Linked DNA regions of Homo sapiens: regions 2, 3 and 4 are each linked to region 1. Evidence: promoter capture Hi-C in 16 types of primary human blood cells and fetal thymus (Javierre and others, 2016). All regions are on one chromosome and are shown on one strand. Each heading gives the region's core, a stretch centred on a gene start or on the middle of the fragment in contact. The rest is flanking DNA. Distances are from core to core; before and after follow the strand shown.

Evidence for each region. Contacts are between HindIII fragments. The CHiCAGO score rates a contact against its expected background, and 5 or more counts as called.
Region 2: a contact is called between a fragment that was not itself captured here and the fragment with the promoter of PSD2 in region 1, in 1 of 17 cell types (M2 macrophages). The highest score is 6.1, in M2 macrophages.
Region 3: a fragment that was not itself captured here is called in contact with the fragment with the promoter of PSD2 in region 1 in 2 of 17 cell types (M1 macrophages and M2 macrophages); the score reaches 7.7 in M1 macrophages.
Region 4: a fragment that was not itself captured here is called in contact with the fragment with the promoter of PSD2 in region 1 in 16 of 17 cell types (M1 macrophages, M2 macrophages, M0 macrophages and 13 more); the score reaches 32.0 in M1 macrophages.

What each region holds. Positions count from the first base shown.
Region 1 is chr5:139,794,385-139,797,422 of GRCh38, forward strand. It overlaps PSD2 (pleckstrin and Sec7 domain containing 2), which reads left to right and starts at 1,424. Exons shown (of 15, transcript NM_032289.4): 1 at 1,424-1,591. RefSeq lists a silencer at 943-1,142. The HindIII fragment of the contact is 8,840 bases long and covers 1-3,038 here.
Region 2 is chr5:140,006,256-140,009,293 of GRCh38, forward strand. The region is part of intron 1 of NRG2 (neuregulin 2); the gene reads right to left. Among named protein-coding and RNA genes, the nearest start is that of NRG2, 36 kb to the right of the region's middle. The HindIII fragment of the contact is 3,147 bases long and covers 46-3,038 here.
Region 3 is chr5:139,987,193-139,990,230 of GRCh38, forward strand. All of the region lies in intron 1 of NRG2 (neuregulin 2), which reads right to left. Among named protein-coding and RNA genes, the nearest start is that of NRG2, 55 kb to the right of the region's middle. The HindIII fragment of the contact is 9,540 bases long and covers 1-3,038 here.
Region 4 is chr5:139,965,256-139,968,293 of GRCh38, forward strand. The region is part of intron 1 of NRG2 (neuregulin 2); the gene reads right to left. Among named protein-coding and RNA genes, the nearest start is that of NRG2, 77 kb to the right of the region's middle. The HindIII fragment of the contact is 304 bases long and covers 1,252-1,555 here.

The sequences.
Region 1 (3,038 bases), core at 174-2,673:
CCTGCTGTTGCCCAGCTTGAAGGGAGGGAGACTACGCACAGCTCAGATTCCACACCTCCAATTACTGCCACCCTAAGAGGTCAGCAAATCCTCTTCCTGCTCCCTAAGAAGAGTCCATGTTTGTGTGTTCATGGGTGGAAAGAAGGTCAGAGAAGACTTCATGAAGGAAGGGGCATTTAAGGAGGAATTTGAGGGTTCAGTAGGAGTTCACTGAGCACAGCAGGATCAAGGCCCCACCGGGCAGAGTGTGGATCATCTGCTGAGGTCTGGAGATGGAAGCAACTGGGTGTGGTGAACCCCCCAGGGGCTGGAGTAGGGGAGAGGGGTAGAAAGTGGCCTCCAGTGGCAGGGCCTGACTCTATCCTGATTTCCCTTCTCCCAGGCACTGGGCCTGCTCCCCACGCCCTCCTTAGATCCCTGTGGGTGGGGGCCCTTTAATGCCTCTCTGAGAGGCGGACTCTTACTCTGCAGGTGCCTCACAGCCAGGAAGTTCTTAATGTCTAGCCCAGGTACAGCCAGTCAACCCTCTTCTTCAGTTAGAGTCCTGGGCTGAGGGGGGCGGCTTCAGGGCCTTGACTTGCCCTTGGGGAGACACCGTGGGACAGGTGCCTTGGGAGATGGTTTCCTCTGCCCAGGGCACCCTCTGTCTCTCTCTGTCTCCTTATATCTGCCCAGGGAGGCTTCCCCTTGACCTGGCACAGGGATGTGGATTCTTGGTTGGACCCACCCCTCACCTCCCGCCTCCCTCAGGTTCTTTCTCCTTTGTCTCTTTCTCCTCTCTCCTGCCTCCTCCCATCCCACTCTGTCCCGAGGCTCCTTCTCACCCCACAGCCCAGGTCTCCGTCCCGTCCCGTGTGACTCTAGGTCTCAGGGGCTCAGTCTCCCTCTCTGAGATTCTTCACCTTGGCCCCCCGCACTCCCTGCTCCTCCCTTGGCGGCGTCTCCCGGGGGCTGGCGTGTGTGTCGGGGGGCTGGGGGCAGGGGTCACTCCCTGAACAGACCGCGGGAGGAGGGCCAGGACCCGCCCCCTCCTTCACCTCCAGGGCCTGGCGGGTCCCGAGAGCTCAGGTTCTAGACCGGTGGGTCCTGCCTGGAGGGCGGAGGTGGTTGGGTCTGCCCGAGGGTTCGAGGACGGCAGGGGCCCAGCGTGGCTAGGAGGGGGCAGAACCCCGGGCGCTCCCCTCCCCCCCTTTCTTAAAGGGCCCGCGCGGGGCAGAGGGGGACAAGGTGGGCCGCGCTCTCCCCGGCACGCTCGGGGTCCCGGGGCGAGCGCTGCGCTGCAAGCGGACAGGGCTGGGGGCCGCGCTTCCCTCCGGGCTCCGCGCCCGCCGCTCGCGCGCCCGCAGTGCCCCCGCCCTTCCCCGCCCTTCCCGCTCCTCCCTCCTCCTCCTCCTCCAGCTCACGGCTCCGCTCCCTCCCTCCTGCCGTCCGTCCCCCTCGCTCAGCCTCTCCACATCGCGGCTCCGGCACCTGAAGGGACGCGGGCGGGCGCGGGCAGCTCCGACCGGCGGCGGCGGGGCGGGACAGGCAGCCCGGCGGCCTCCGATGGCCCCGCCGTGAGAGGCCGGACCCGCGGCGGGGACCAGCAGCGGTGAGTGGGGCCGCGGGGCTCCGGGACCCGCCCCTCCCCGCTGGCGGCCAGGCCGGGGCGGGACGGGCCGGGGAGAGGGCCGCGTGCGGGTGGGGGGCGTCGCCCTCGCCCTCGGTGCCCACCCGGGTCCGCTAACAAAGCTACATTTCCAGATCAATTCCGCGGCGTCTGGAGCATCCGAAGGATACGGTTGTCATGGAGATGGGGCCGAGAGAGGAAGCCCGGGCTGGCCGGGTCTGGGCCGGGGAGAGGGGGCGCCGCGGGAAAGCCCGAGCCCAGCCTGAGGGACGGTGGGGGCTGCCGGGCCGATTGTCTCCCGGCTCCGCCACCCACTACCCTCTCCCCGCTTTTGTATAATCTGGGGGTACGCGTGTGCGTGGGGGGTGCCAGTGGCAGCCTGGTGGTCGGGGATCGGGGCATTGGGTACCGGGGCCTGCCGGCAGCCACCTTCACGAGGCTGCAGCTTTGAGGATTTATTTCTGTTTCCAGTTTCCCAACTTTGACAGCCCTGCTTGGCGGCCAGGCCTCCCCGGCTCTGCAGCTAGAGCGGGGGCTCGCACGGGGGCGTGGCAGTCAGGGCTGAGGAGGCACATAATGGCCGAGGCGGCAGCGGGAGGGAGGGGTCCCAGGAGCGGGCTGCTGGGGCTGGGTGCAGAGGGAGTCCAGACTGGGGACAACCCTGCCCAGCGGGCCCCCTCGGAGGAGGAGGTATTCAGCTGTTCCTAGAGGATGCAGGGACTCCCCGGAATGATCACTGGGGGCATTGTTTTTGCATAGGCCCAGGGGGCCACTGTCTCAAGCCCACCCCTTTGTCTTGGGGCCATCTTGGGGGGGCCAGGAAGAGAACAGGGAGCAGAAGCAGCAGTCACAATGGAAGAGGGCCTAAGACTCCTGGCAGCCTGGGGATAAGCCAGGCTGAATTTGATGGGGATCAGCGAGAGGGCTCAGGATTTGGCCAGGGCAGGTGGGCAGCCTGGGTTTGGACTTTCCTGGGTTCCCCAGTTCCTTTTTCTAGATCCTACAAACAAGAGCTGCTTAATAGTGGTTGGGGGTGGGGGGGTTCACTGGGCTGGGACTGCCTCCAAACCCAACCCGTGGCCCAGGGCAGTTGCAGTCGTTCTTTCATTCTTCCACCCTCTCCCCAGGACTTTAGGAACCTGTCTCCCAGGGAAGCTACAAGTTCTGGGGCCTGGGATCTCCGAATCAGTAAAATGTGCCTGCTGTCCTCCCAGCAGCCCCTTTCCCCAATATATGCGGGAAGCAGGGAACAGGGGCTTTTGAGTGGGGCTACTGCAAAGTTTGGTCCTGGTGGAAACATAGCAGGTCCCTAGGGTTTGGCCAGAGCCCCCAAAAGATTCCCACGCAGTGGGGTGAGTAGGTGGGTGTGGCCCAGCTAAAGGAGGATGACTGGGTTGTCCTTGGAAGGCCTCCCTCACTGGTGCCTCTT
Region 2 (3,038 bases), core at 369-2,868, 210 kb after region 1:
AATGGAGATTGTTCAGCTTCGGTAGAAGCCTGAGCTATCAAAGAAAGCTTTTAAGTACAGATTGCCCCAATTTGGCTCTCTCCTACACTGCTGATGTCAAATGGCGTAACCATTCTGGAGGGCAACTTGATAACATGTATCAAAAGCCTTAAAAATGTTCTTATCCTTTCACCCCAAAATTCCACTTCGAGGAATTAACCTAAGGATATCAGAGATGCACACAAAGATTAATGTACAAAGTTGTCATTCAGTATTATCTCTAGTAGTCTGAAAATTGGTTATAATAATGTTCTACAACTGGAAGTTATTAAATAAATATGGAGCATTCATAAGATTGTCTAATATGCATCCATTAAAAATCATATTTTCTAAGAACGGTTTGCCGTGTATTAAGATATGATCCTGATTTGGTGTGTGAGTATGGTGGAAGAGAAGAGAGACATGCCAGGAAAAGATGCAAGAAGAAAATACACCTTAAAACTTATTATCTCTAGGTGGTTGAGATGCCAACAGATCCTTTAAATTTTTCTTCTTTTATACTTCTCTGTTTCTTCTATATTTTCTCCAACAAACATGTTACTTTTCAAACAAGGAAAATTCATAGTCCCCATTATAGAGAGGCTCATTAACCTGCCCTAGGGTCTTCCGTGAGTCAGAAGTGAAATCAAAAATAAAGACCATGGTTCTCAAAAGCCTAGTTCATCACACAAGCTGCCTACATGTGTGCTGTGGTAACTCTAGAATAGTGGTCCTTAACTGGGGTGATTTTGCCCCACAGGGACGATTTCCATGTTTAGAGACATTTTTGTTTGTGGTAACGGGGGAAGGTGGATGCTACTGGCATCTAGTGGAGGGGCCAAGGATGCTACTAAATATCCTACAATGCCCAAGATAGTACCCCATAACAAAGAATCATTTGGCTCAAAATGCTAATAGTGCCATTGTTGAGTAACTCTGCTCTAGGAGAAGGAAACTGGACTTTGAAAAAGCTCAGGTGGCTCAAAGATACAGGAACCTCCAATCTGCTTCACATCCTGTGCGAGCTGTAGTGCCTTCTGCTTCAAACAGGCAGTTAACAGACCCCAGGGGATAAAGCATTGAGGACTTTATTACTTATATTAAGCAGCCTTCAGCTTCCAATTGGAGAAAAAGAAATTGCTCATTTCACTCCAGAGCCATAACAGACACAAGCAGAACACAGCTTAGGATCAAGAGCTCAGAAAGAGGAGATCAGCCAGGAGCTGGAGGTGGCAGGTGGGGAGTGTGTACCGACAGGCAACACCAGCTGGACTCAGGAGCCGGAGGCCTGTCTGTACATTCTCCTTCTGCATCTTCACCTCCAGCACCCTACTAGTCCTGGGTGACAATTTTAGACTTCACTTCCAAGTATCTTTAGGGTAGGAGAAAAAGGAAGAGCTCCACCCAACCCCTGAGAAAGATTCTTTCTGCTTTTGGAAACTCTCTTCCATCAAAGAGGGTCACTTGCTTGGACTTATCCAGGGGTTTCAAGGGAAGACAGATATTATGCCAGCATTTCATTTTCCCTGTGACCTTGGGCCCAATTTAGCAACTCATAGGACTCAAGTGCTGGAAAGAACCTTGGCCCAAACCTTGTCCCTTAACAGATCAGGAAACCAAGTCCCAGGGAAGCCAAGGATCAGGCCCAACTCACACAGCTATGGCGAAGCCGATACCTGAACCCGGATCTTCCATTCTCTCTATTCCTTACAGCATCTCAGTCACCAGGAAGTCTGATACTGTGAGACCCACAGCCGCCAGTCCTATAGTAGGAAGCTGTCACTCTCTAGTGTCATTTCACATGAGAACAGATGTGGGGAGCACCACACAGGAATGTGTTCCCATGGGCAGCCTGACATCTACATGTCCCATTTTGCTGCAGCCACTGAGGGTAAGTGCAGAGTCTATGCAGAAGATGCATGGGGAAATCAAAGATCTATTCCACAGCAGATGTGAAGCTCTAGTGTTGCTACTACCACATCCTTCGAGTAGCCTAGTAAACCTTATTTCAGCCAAACAAAAGGGCTCTTGTTCCACTAGGGCTATCGCTGGCCCCTTTTACTGGATAGCTGACCACACAACTGTTTGCTGCATTTATTCAACAAATATTTATTGAGCACCTATTATGTGCCAGAAACTGAACTAGGTAATGGTCATTTGGGTCTGACCTACTCTCTCTAAGGTCTAGTCCTATTATAGGCCCACTTCTGGGATTGCTTAGAGATCCCTTACTCCTTACTAAACCAAGTTTCCCTACAGTGAGCTCATCTTTACCTGAGCTAGCTTGGGAGATTCTAACTTTGGCTTGTGACCAAAAGAGAAAAACTAAAACCAAATGAAATGTATATACACTACAGTGAATTCCAGACGGGTCAGCATTAAATGCCAACTTAAAACCTAGAATATAAGAGAATGCTTATTTATCCCTCTCAGTCGGGGAGAAATAACTGACAAATGATATGACCAGAGACTCAACTGGTGAGTTCAAAAAAATAAATGCATGAAACAAGGAGGTATAGTACTATGGTTAGGATATAGGCTCAGAAATCAGACAGGCATGTCTCTGCTACTTACTGTGTGGTCTTGAGCAAGTTACTTAACCTCTCTGTGTCTCAGTTCCCCATATGAAAAATGGGATAATAGCAATAGAACCAACCTCCCAGGGTTGTTGCAAGGACTGAGTGAGAGACAAAACAATTACACAGCAAAACAATGACATAGCACTAGTGCATATTCAGTAACCATTATTTCTGGCACTTAGGAGTCATTTAGCACTCATCCTCCAATCTGATCCTATGCTTTCCCTAAAAGATCCTGGCAAAATGGCACCACAAACTTCCCTGAGCTGCATCATCAATAAAGTAGAAGCTCAGCATACTGTGAAGATTCATTGCTTTTCAAAGCCCCACAGAAGAAATCAGCAGCATCTCAGATTGTGGCTGCCTCTGCTGCTGCTGCAGAGCTGGACACATGGAATCTCTCACTGTCTTGCCTCCAGTTGAAAGAGGCCTCAGAGTCAG
Region 3 (3,038 bases), core at 198-2,697, 190 kb after region 1:
GAAAGCCCATCTCTACTAAAATACAAAAAAAAAAAAAATTAGCCGAGCGTGGCGGTGAGCGCCTGTAGTCCCTGATGAGGCAGGAGAATCTCTTGAACCCGGGAGGCGGAAGTTGCAGTGAGCTGAGATCGCGCCACTGCGCTCCAGCCTGGGTGACAGAGCAAGACTCTGTCTCAAAAAAAAAAAAAAAAAAAAAAAAAGGATATTATGCCACCTCACATCCTGACTCATGCTCCAGGAAAGGACCCAAGGCAGGGGTCCAGTGCTCTAAGGATGCCCACTGCAGGAAGCAGGGAAGTAAATGCTCTAACTGGGACGATCCCAGCCAGAGACTGCTGAGTAACCACACATCTGTCCAGGAGAAATTCACTAGACAGATCTACCTATCTTCCACTGCCAATGAGACTGTCCCTGAATACAGAGCTTTGAATGTAGAAAAGGACAGGTGGATGTTGCCTCATACCAGTGGGAGCTAAAGTGGTGCCATCTTTCATTTCAGGAAGCTAACTTGGTAATATGTATCAAAAGCCTTATTAAATGCACATATCCTTTGATATAAGAATTTCATTTCTGCAGGTTGTTTTTTTTTTTTTTTTTTTGAGACGAGAGTCTCACTCTGTTGCCCAGGCTGGAGTGCAGTAGTGCGATCTCGGCTCACTGCAAGCTCCACCTCCCGGGTTCACGCCATCCTCCTGCCTCAGCCTCCCGAGTAGCTGGGACTATAGGCGCACACCGCCATGCCTGGCTAATTTTTTGTATTTTCAGTAGAGATGGGGTTTCACCGTGTTAGACAGGATGGTCTTGATCTCCTGACCTTGTGATCCGCCTGCCTCGGCCTCCCAAAGTGCTGGGATTACAGGCGTGAGCCACCACGCCCAGCCTCTGCAGGTTGATTTTCAGAAACTAATTCAAGATACATATCTATTAGAATGGCCAAAGTCCAGAACATGACAACACCAAATGCTGGTGAGGATGTGGAGCAACAGGAATTCTGGTTCATTGCTGGTGGGAATGCAAAAGGGCACAGCCACTTTGGAAGATAGTTTGACAGTTTCTTACAAAACTAAACATACTCTTACCATATAATCCAGCAATTGAGCTCTCTGGTATTTACCCAAAGGAGTTGAAAACTTACGTCCATACAAAAACATGCACACAGATGTTCATATCATCTTCTATAATTGCCAAAACTTGAAAGCAACCGAGTTGGCCTTCATTAGAGGAATGAATAAACTGTGGTAAACCAGTAAATGAAATATTCAGTGCTAAAAAGAAAAAAGCTATCAAGCCATGAAAAGATCTGGAGGAACCTTAAATCCATATTGCTAAAGGAAAGAAGCCAATTGAAAAGGTTACGTATTATATGATTCCAACTGTATCACATTCTGGAAAAGGCAAAACTATGGAGAGAGTAAAAGGATCAGTAGTTGCCAGAGGTTGGGGCAAGGGAAGGATGAATAGATGGAGCACAGAGGATTTTCAGGGCAGTGAAAATACTATATGATACTATAGCGAATGTATGTCCTTATACACATGTCCAAACCCATAGAATGTACACCACCAAGAGTGAACCCTAATGTAAGGTATAGACTTTGGGTGATAATGATGTGTCAATGTAGGTTTATCTGTTGTAATGTATGTACCACTCTCGTGGGGGATATTGTAATTGGGAGCCTGAACATGTATGAGGGCAGAGGCCATATGGGAAATCTCTGTACCTTCCTTTCAATTTGACTGTGAGCCTAACACTGCTCTAAAACAAACAGTCTTAAATATAATAAAATTGGCCCCGGTCTCACACCATAAAAAAGAAAGACATTAATTGAATTTGTTTGAAGATTAAGGTACAAGGATGTTCATTTTAGACCTTTACTGGAGCAAAAAATATTGTAAACAACTTAGATGTACCATAAGAGCAGACTGTTAAATTATGGAAGATTTGTACAATAGAATATTCCTTGCCTCCCACATCTAAGTCATCAGAGCAAGTTCTCCATTATCTCCGGAATAGATTCTGATTCTGTTCATTACTCTCCATCTCAATGGCCACCACTGGAGAACAATGCCTCACCCTCCTTCATCTGGATACTAAACATCTTCCTAACTGGTCATCCTGCTCCAGCTTCTACTCCTTTGATCCATTCTTCACATAGCAGTCAGAGCTGTCTACTTTGCTGCCTGGCTAGCTAGCTAACCATTTGTTTAAAGTATTAAAAGCACCCATAAACCTACCACATTTGGCCCCTACCCATGCCATGTCCTAACACCTCCCATGCCAGGCAGCCATCAACCTGAATCCTCACTCCCTTGCTTTCCTTTTTATATAGTGTTATTGCATCTATAAGAGTTCCTAAATACACATATTTTTAAAGTTTTTAATTTAATAAAAAATATCCCGTGGCACGCAATAATTTTTGCACTTAGTGGTATTTGTTAAGATTCACGCATGTTGTTGCATGTCACCACAGTTCATTCATTCAAACAGCTGTGTAATATTCCACTGTAGTTATGGATTTAGTTTATTCAGTCTCTTGTTGATGGGCATTGAAGATTTTTTGCTAGGTTTTTATTATTATTATTATTATTTATTTTATTTTATTTTTTTATTTTTTTTTGAGACAGAGTCTTGCCTTTTGCCCAGGCCGGACTGCAGTGGCGTGATCTCGGCTCACTGCAAGCTCCGCCTCCTGGGTTCATGCCATTCTCCTGCCTCAGCCTCCCGAGTAGCTGGGACTACAGGTGCCCACCACCACGCCCAGCTAATTTTTTGTATTTTTAGTAGAGACGGGGTTTCACCATGTTAGCCAGGATGGTCTTGATCTCCTGACCTTGTGATCCGCCCACCTCGGCCTCCCAAAGTGCTGGGATTACAGGCGTGAGCCACTGTGCCTGGCCTTATTATTATTATTTTATTATTATGAATGCTGTTATGAACATTGTGATCCATGTCTCTTATTGTGTATGTGCAAGAATTTCTGTTGGATATATATCTAGGCATGTAATTTCTGCATTTTGTGGTATGTAAATGTCAAACTTTA
Region 4 (3,038 bases), core at 154-2,653, 170 kb after region 1:
CAGCTCACTATGTTCCAGGGTGGGTCAGGGGACAGTACCCCAGAGGGACACCCCGACTCTCTCAACTCCTCCCAAACCAAAGCCTCAGGTTTTCCAAGAAGGCAAACAGCTGCTCAGAGAAAGCAGCCCAAACCAGCACAATTGCCAACAGAGCTTGAGGCAAGGCATTCCCCAGCCCCAGACCAGGCCAAACAGCAGAGCGACGCAGTCCTCCTGAACAGGGATGGCAGCAGCAGCCCCAGCTGCCAGCAGGAGGCCGTGGCTTTCATGCCACCACACAGCAGTGCTGCTGATGCTCCAATGTATAACAGGGCCTGAATATTCACCCAATCAGGCCCCTGGACAGAGGGACTCTGACACTTCTGCTGATGAATCCTGGCCCTCCTGAAGGCCTTCCTATGAGCAGCAAAGCACAGGGCTATACTTTCTGCCAAGATATATCTCCTTCCCAGTCTGGTAGAGACCGTCACCCCAATTGCAGACAGTGCTAAAAGGAAGAGCTGTCAGGAGTGCTCACTAGTACAACTCTTGCCAAGGTCAGGATGTGACTGTGAGGTAAAGCCAGCAGAGGTATGGATGTGGGGCTCACAGCCTTTGCAGAGGGAGAGGTGTGCTAGCCAGGGGGAGAGGGGATTGTGGGCAAGGTCCCTCCTACCAGTCTCTCATATTGCCCTATATCAGCCTATTCATTTTCTTCCTAGGACTTTTCACAATTTCTAATTTTTTTTTTATATTTGCTTACTTATTATTTGTTTCCTCCACTAGGCTATAAGCCCCATGAGTTTAGGGACCATGTCTCGCTTATTTACTATGGTATCCCCAGTGTCAGTGTGGTGCCTGGCACATAGCAGGGACTCAGTAATATTTACTGAACCAATGAATGGTCTCTGTCCAGAGAACCTCGGTGCACTATGCTCCATTGCCAACGAAACACAGGAGTGATGCACCTAAACACCCAGAGAATCCAGATCAGAGATGGCAGGAAGTTCTTCAAGGAAGGCCCACCAGCTCTCCCACCCATGCATTCATACCACATTGTACAAGTCTAATCTGAGCACTTACGCGACAGGTACTGCACTGGAATGTGAGGATCCCTCCACGAAACAAATAAACAAAACCACTGGCCCCTTCCCTTACGGAGGTATGACTTTGGTAAGGAAGGGATATTAAGAAACAAATGACTACAATTCAGTCTGACAAGCACCATCAGAGGTAAGATCAGAGGACCCACCCTACTCTTGGGAGCTGGGAAGCTTTCCCAGAGGAGGGACATTCTAAGATGAGCTCTTAGGGGTGGTGTGAACTAGCAGCAAAGACTGGAGGAGGAAAGAGGGAAGAAAAGAAGATTTCACAAAAAGAGGTTAGTATATGCAAGAGTTTAGAAATGAGAGCATATGCGACTTAAAAAAGGAGAAAAGGGAAGTTTGGCATGGTCAGGGGTGATGAGGAGAGGCTGAGAGAGAGAGTTGGAAATGCAAGCAGGAGGACCTGGAGGGCCTGGGAAACTGTGTGGTGAGCTGCTGATGGGCTACAAACAGAAAGGTAAAAGAATCTAAGCTTGTGATTTAGAAGCTTCCCTAAGTGCACAGAAAAGCAAGCTCAGAGCATACCTGCTCATGCAGAAGGCTAGTGAGGCTTCTCCTATCTCTAATGGATGGGAAGGAGCTTACAGGAACTGCTCAAAAAAAGGCCTGGGAGGAAACAGGGGTCATGCAGGCCCCCAGCCTCCCCCAGTGGCTCCACATCAATAGAACTTATTTGCCCCTTGCTCCGAGATATAACACCCAGGGGATTGCAGGAGACCTGAGATGCCAGTCATGTGGGAATCACATGTGAGGAGTCTCCACACTGCATAGCCCACGGGGATAGGGTCAACGGGAGTGGCTGGAAAGGAAGAGGAGGCAATGGCCGGTGCTGGGGCCAGGGATCATGGGATTCAAGAAAGCTATTTAGAGTCAACCTCATGCCTAGATTATAAGGACCTTCACTCCAGGGACTATTACCTTGTATCCCACTCAGCCCTGGGTACAAGGTAGATGTCCAACAAGTACTCCTCTTGGGCAGAGGAATAGAAAACCCACTCAGACATTCTCAGGACACACATACCTCCTCCGCAACAGAGTCTCCGTACTGAAGGACAAGTGTCCTTTTCCTCTTTCCTCATCCTGCAGCCCAACAAAGGCCACAGGTGGCCAAATGTACCAGACAACAAAAGCTGATGAAGACGCTGCTGCCGTGCACAAGGTGGGCCCACGAGAGGGCAGTTGGTGGCCAGGTGGGAAGAAAAGCAGAGACACTTCTAAGGAGAGGCTGGTAACTGAAGATCCCTCAGATGCAAGGCCTCATCAGAGATGTAGAATGCCTGGGCTCTAGTCAGAGCCCTCAAGACTCCTTTAACCTTGGGTCTTGATTTTCTTACCTATGAAAGGAGAACAGGGCCGGGCACAATGGCTCTTGCCTGTAATCCTAGCACTCTGGGAGGCCGAGGCGGGTGGGAGATCGAGACCATTCTGGCCAACATGGTGAAACCCCATCTCTATTGAAAATACAAAAATTAGCCAGGCGTGGTGGCGGGCGCCTGTAGTCCCAGCTACTCAGGAGGCTGAGGCAGGAGAATCCCTTGAATCTGGGAGGCAGAGGTTGCAGTGAGCTGAGATCGCACCACTGCACTCCAGCCTGGGCAACAGAGCTAGACTCTGTCCCAAAAAATAAAACATAAAAATAAATAAATAAATAAATAAATAAATAAATAAATAAATGGAGAACAGGACTGCATGCTTACTCAAGCCCCTTCCAGAGTTTCATTCCAGGGGGAGGAGGCCATGCTGACCCCCAAGGCCTCTGAGGGAAACAGCTTCTGCTTTCCTAGCAGGCACTGGCAGCTCAAGTCAGGCCTTCCCACTCTCCGATAGTCCCGTCCCAATGAAATACCGAGGCTGGGCCCAGAATCACCATGCCTGCCCGCCCGGCTGAGAAGGGGTGAGAAGGGAAGATGTGGAAGTGACAAGCCGGAGGCAGCTGATGAGGCCGACCACAGA